Regions from separate parts of the Homo sapiens genome. Here region 1 is linked to region 2. Evidence: promoter capture Hi-C in human tissues and cell types (Jung and others, 2019). All regions are on one chromosome and are shown on one strand. The core of a region is centred on a gene start or on the middle of the fragment in contact, and the rest is flanking DNA. Distances in the headings are between cores, read along the strand shown.

The links. Contacts are between HindIII fragments. The study calls those that stand out against the background at their distance.
Region 1: a fragment that was not itself captured here is called in contact with the fragment with the promoter of LMCD1 in region 2 in 1 of the 25 tissues and cell types used here (hippocampus).

What each region holds. Positions count from the first base shown.
Region 1 is chr3:8,644,404-8,647,245 of GRCh38, forward strand. It overlaps SSUH2 (ssu-2 homolog), which reads right to left and starts at 395. Exons shown (of 12, transcript NM_001256748.3): 1 at 328-395. The coding sequence starts at 355. The HindIII fragment of the contact is 4,453 bases long and covers 1-2,842 here.
Region 2 is chr3:8,500,218-8,503,074 of GRCh38, forward strand. LMCD1 (LIM and cysteine rich domains 1) reads left to right here and starts at 1,606. Exons shown (of 6, transcript NM_014583.4): 1 at 1,606-1,763. The coding sequence starts at 1,722. It overlaps LMCD1-AS1 (LMCD1 antisense RNA 1), which reads right to left and starts at 1,441. Exons shown (of 4, transcript NR_033378.1): 1 at 1,254-1,441. RefSeq lists an enhancer at 1-127. The HindIII fragment of the contact is 11,258 bases long and covers 1-2,857 here.

The sequences.
Region 1 (2,842 bases), core at 113-2,612, 140 kb after region 2:
TAGAGAGAAAAGTTCTCAATTTCATCTTTCACCTTCCTTCTCCATTGTCCAAAGGCTCATAACGGAAGAAGAGATCGCAAGCTACAGGTAGGCTTTACACACGAGAGGAAGGAAGGAAGGAAGGGGTGCTCTCGGCAATCCAGATGCAGACCCAGGACTGCATTTAGGGCAGATGGAAGAGTTCACACAGTGCTAGCTACAGAGCTTATTAGAAAAGACTATGGATACATAACTTCCAACATATTAGAGGTCAGATTAGGTCCTCTTCAAATGCAGGCTAAAATATCTCCACACAGTCTTCCGTGCCATCTTTGAGGCTCTACTTACTGTCATCTTCATTCAGATCCCTGTCCATGTTCCAGACGTCCTGCCAAAGAGATGTCTGCCCTTCGAGTGTGCTTGGACCGATGTGCTCTGATGGACCACCCTCAGGCCCCTCCCAGAACAGCAGGCCCATTGTTACCCAGTTGGAATACAACAAAGGGAAACATCTATATCGTTCATCATAGCAGCTGCTCTGCACCCAATCCACCGGGTTCTGGGAGCTCCTCTTCCACAAGAGCCTTCTACTGACCAAGCTCTTATGGATGCTTCTAGTTACTCATGTCCTCACTGCACCCCTTTGAGAGGGGCACTGGTATCATGCCCATTTTTCTGAGCAGGATGATAGATTCAAACCCTCATCAGTCTGACTCTCTAGTCAGAGTGCCTGACAACTGAGCTACATCGCCCAGCTGTAGGAGGCAGACTCCTAAGTATTGTAGGGCGCATGCAGAAAAAGGTCATAACCACAAGAAGGTTACCTCCCCAAGGGGGATATTATATACAGATACTCAGCCTGGGCAGGGCCTCTGAGATCTTGAGCATCACCAGCCTCATCTCCCTGGGGAAGAAACAAAGCTGGGATTGTGAGGCCACACTGCAAAGCCACACGGCACCTCATGGGCAGAGCTGGCTCCCAACCCAGCCATGTGGGCCACTACTGTCGCCACACCAGCCTCGCCCACTGTGAAACATCTTTGGATTTGTAAAAGGTCTTTTCCTAAACCTTTTCCATTGGAGTTTGACACCCCTTCAACCTCAGCCCTTGGAAGATCATCCTCCTCTGCATGAGTCTAAACACAGAACTTGTGAGCTGGTCCCCGAGGCTCTATGGGTCCCACCCCCTCCACTGCATCCTTGGCAATCACTCCTCTGCAGCTGAACCTGGGGTTCTCTGGCCAGGGTGATGAAACTGCCCTACGCCTTGACTTCCCCATCCCAGCAATGCACGTGGGATGTGCCATGATATTCCTCAATGACAACCTGGGATTGCCTTCACCAGGGGAAGCATCAGGACTATTTTGTCAGTGTCCTAAATGTCGGCCTGTCTGGGATGGCCACACTGCACAGAGATGGCTCCCAGCTGCTCCATAAAGAGCGTGTCTTTATTCTCTCTACTGCCTTCACCCTCGTCACTGACTGCCCATCGCCGACAGCATGCAAGTGCAACCTTCAGCAGTATTCACAATTTCACAAATGCTTCTTAGGTGACTCAGTCCTCACAAATCGATTTTTATGGCTGGTAGGAGCACTGGATTTCTGATACTTGAGAGTCATATAAGTTTCATTACTGTGTATACACAAGGAAGACCATGATCCTGAGGAACAAATGTGGTCTTTTGATGCCTTTATACATGAAGCAATGATTTTAAGCCCTTATAGAATTGTCCCCATGGTAAATGGGGTTATCATGAATTTGTATGCCTTTCTCTGCGTGTATATTTTACCCTAAACATCTGTGTGAGCATCCATTGCTGTATCTGTTTAGGTGTGTGTTTGCATGTGTGTATATATTTGAGCCAAAACATGATAAATGATAGATTAATGACAAAATGCTTGCAACTTAACTAAAACAATATACCACTATTACATCTTGAGTACTTTTTAAGCGCAATATATGCTTACCTAAAACCCTCCTCAGCATTTAAAAGGAACAACCACAGAAAATTCTTTAAATGTCAAATTGAACAAAATGTTGAAGAGAATTAAGCATTACAAGGACCCGAAATCTTGAGGCCGCAAAAATGCAGACAACGCTGAGCTGTATTTTCGTAACCAGGAAGTGCTGATCAGCAGAAATGACAGTCCTTTTCTGCACGCTACTTAGATCACATAATAGTAAGTTAATAAAAAGCTCTTAAAACGCATGGAAGATAAACAAACCAACAGCTAGACCTTTCTGATCTTGCTTCGGCATCCGTACAGAAGTGCTGTCTGCAACAGTGTGCTTGAGTGACTCGGGGCAAGTAATGTACCCATCAACACCTAACATCCGTGGTAGCAGCAGGAACAAGCAGCATTAGCTCTGGGACCCACGACAGTGTGAGGCTAGTACTGGTCCCTGCCTCTTACTATCAAAGGAGGTTGGGATCAGGGAAGAGAGGCGCCCACTATGTGCCTGACATCTGACAGTCATTCTTCCTCCCTGCTGTTGATGGAAATGAGTGGGCTCTGAGAGCTCCTCCTGAACTGGCCCTCGTGTCCTGCATGTGCTAAGTGCTCAAGAAACATTTGTGGAATTAGCACAGCTGTCCAGGAGCTGACTCTATCAATTGATTGCTGTCTAAGAACCTTGTTTTTTCCTGGAAATAAAATCTATGTAATCTCACAGGTGGGTGTCTGTCTTGGGATATGTCATGGCTGCAGCAAGAATTAGGGTAGGGCAGAGCTTTAGAAGGGAATCAAGGAACCACGTGGTCAGACTGCAATTGAACATGATAGTGAGGAAAAACCTAGAAGCAAGGTTCAATAACTGTCTTCAAGTGTTTAAAGGGGCATGTGGGAAGGCAGCAGCAGAACA
Region 2 (2,857 bases), core at 356-2,855:
TGTACTGTGCCTATACCACATGCTAGGTGTTTGAGGACATAGCTGGGAGCAAACAAGGCAAAAATCAATTATAGCAGAAATCTGTGAAAAAAGAAATAGGTCATCCCTCATCTTGGAAAAGATAAGCCACAAAAAGCCCTTTCCAGGAATATGTAATAAAAAGTCACAATTCAGGATCCCTGGCTGAGATTTGGGATGACTGGAGATGATGATAAGAACTAAATTGGAGGAGGCTTTCAAGAGGAAAAAGCCTCCAGCAAGAGACAGCCCCACAGTGGGAACTGCAGCCTCCCCTTCTCACCAAATCCCTCCCGAATGGTGTACTTCGGGACCACTCTTCAGTCTCTGTGCAACCGAGTTTTATTTTAGCCCACGGGACCCTGGTTTTTCTGGCAGGGGGCACTGCAAAGACGGGTTACAGGCCGAACACCTCACAACAGAGACAGCAGTATTCTCTCTAGGATAAAAAGGGCTTGTGTTTAATCCTCTGTCAGGGCAGGGGGGAAATGCCTCTGGAATCCAAGTCTGTGGAACCGGCTCAGCAGAGAGATGTGGCTTTATAGGCAAACAACGTGGCATAGAGAGAGGAACCTGGCCAATTCTGTCTTATAAGAGTAGTTATGTTATGCGTTGCAAGGACTCCACATTCCATGGATTTGTGAACTCAGATGGAATCTTGTTTGTCCAGGCCTGCATGACCCCATTTATCTAAAAATTACTAACTTCCTAGTTTATAGTTTACAATCCTGTGCCCGCCGCCTCCCTCCCCCCCCCCGCCACGCCCCCATGAGCTTTCTCTCTATTACTCTCAGTCTCTCAGGTTAAAGCCTTGCTCAGTAATTCAGCTGTGGACCAGTTATTCTGATTATTTCCTCATCTATCGTCTTACAGTCATAATAATAATAATATCTGAGATAATATGAGCATACAACAAGACAGTATGTCCACAGGAGCATCTCTAAGATCAGGACAGTGATTTCTTGCTCATGGAATAAGAAGGATTTATGTTAAAGCAAGTTATAAGAAAGCAGTTTAATACTTTACGAACGTTAAGTTTAAAAAAATCATAACTCGCTGGAATCTTTTCTCCTCTCTGGATATTGGAGAACTCGCCCAGGTTTGGGAAACGTTAGCCAGCTCCTGCAAAACACCTCCTCCCTCAGCCCTCCCCGCGCCCCCTACGACCAGGCAGAAAGGGTGGGAAGGGGAGCACAGCTCAGCATTTATTTCTGGATCCAGCTCACTAAAAATACCTCGGCTCTCCTGTTTGATCACTCTCCCTTTTGACCTGAATGGATCGCGGGAGCCGCGCCGCCCGCCCCACCTTCGGCCCGTTGCCCTTTAAAGGAAAAGGGCGTGGGGACGGATTCCTGCCGCTCGAGGGATAGAAGGGAGCTGGGTAGTCAGGGGCCGCGGCCATGCTGACGTCAGGGCAGCCGGCGCTCAGCTCCGCTCGCTGCCACAGTGCAGAGACCTCCCTGAGGGAGGGGGACAGCCTCGCGCTGGGATTGGCTGGCCTCGCGCGAGCGCCGGCGCGGAGTGGCTGGCGAGGTTTTAGAGGGAGTCCCGCTCTCCAATTAAAGCGGCCCAGCTGCGCCTGGCTGCGCACAGAGCTCCCTCCCAGGCCCGCGAACTTGGCCATTCAGCCGCCGCTGTCCCCGCTGCGCGCCCTCGCGCCTCTGCCTGAGAAGCCAGGCGCTGTTCCCCCACCCCAGAAGAGGATGGCAAAGGTGGCTAAGGACCTCAACCCAGGAGTTAAAAAGGTGAGTGGAAAGCTGTTTGTATTTACCCAGATTCTTACTTTTTCTTGTTCCCCTTCCCATCTGTTCGCGGAAACTTCCCAAAAGGTAATGAGAAGGGAACTCTTTAAATTCCAAAACTGCATGGAAAACAAATAGTTGGGAATACATGTTTGAGCTAACAGGCACACACACCCCAAACCCAATGTTGTGTAAAATATTTGCAAAGGGTCTTATGTCTTTGGTGATGCTAGTTAAAGTTTAATTAAGGTTTTACATATATATACAATATATATAAAATGTATATAAAATATATATATAAAATATATATAATATATATTATATATAATATATAAAATATATATTATATATAATATATATTATATATAAAATATATAATATATATTATATAAAATATATATAATATATATTATATATAAAATATATATAATATATAATATATATATATGAAATCTTATGGTCTGTAAAGGAAAAACCCCTAGCTTCCTCACTCCCTGTCCTCAGGTGGCTGAAGTAAGGGTTGAGAGCATGTAATATTTACTCACAGTCTCCCTTTTGCTATTATCCCAGTGTTTTGTGTGTTTCCCCCAATACACACACACACACACACACACACACACACACACACACGCACGCAGTTTCTTTAGTTGGTGATGTTGGCAGTGGCAGCAGTTCCAGCATAAGGGAACTGATTTCTGTCCCCAGGGTCTGCACGTTTCCCTTACAAGAAGGGCTGGCCCGGAGCCCAGAAGGTCATGGGTAAACTCCTGCACAGGAGCCTGCGGCTGTGCCTATAGCTCCAATACCACTTGTTGCCTACCTGAATGCAGCTGGGAGAAGGCACAGGCTGGAGACTTAGAGAACATGTGAACGGGAAGGGAACAGAGAGACAACCTAGGCTTTACAGATCGGGAAACTGAGGCCCGGGGTCACAGAGAGTTGGTTCTAACAGGCAGCTGACTGTAAGGCAAGCCCTAGGCATCCAGACTCAGTCCCTGCCACTTTTTAACTGCACATGATTCACCAGGTCACTTTTCTGAGCCTCAGTTTCCTTGTCTCTGATGTGGGGAGGATAGGCCTAACCTCCCTCATGGCAG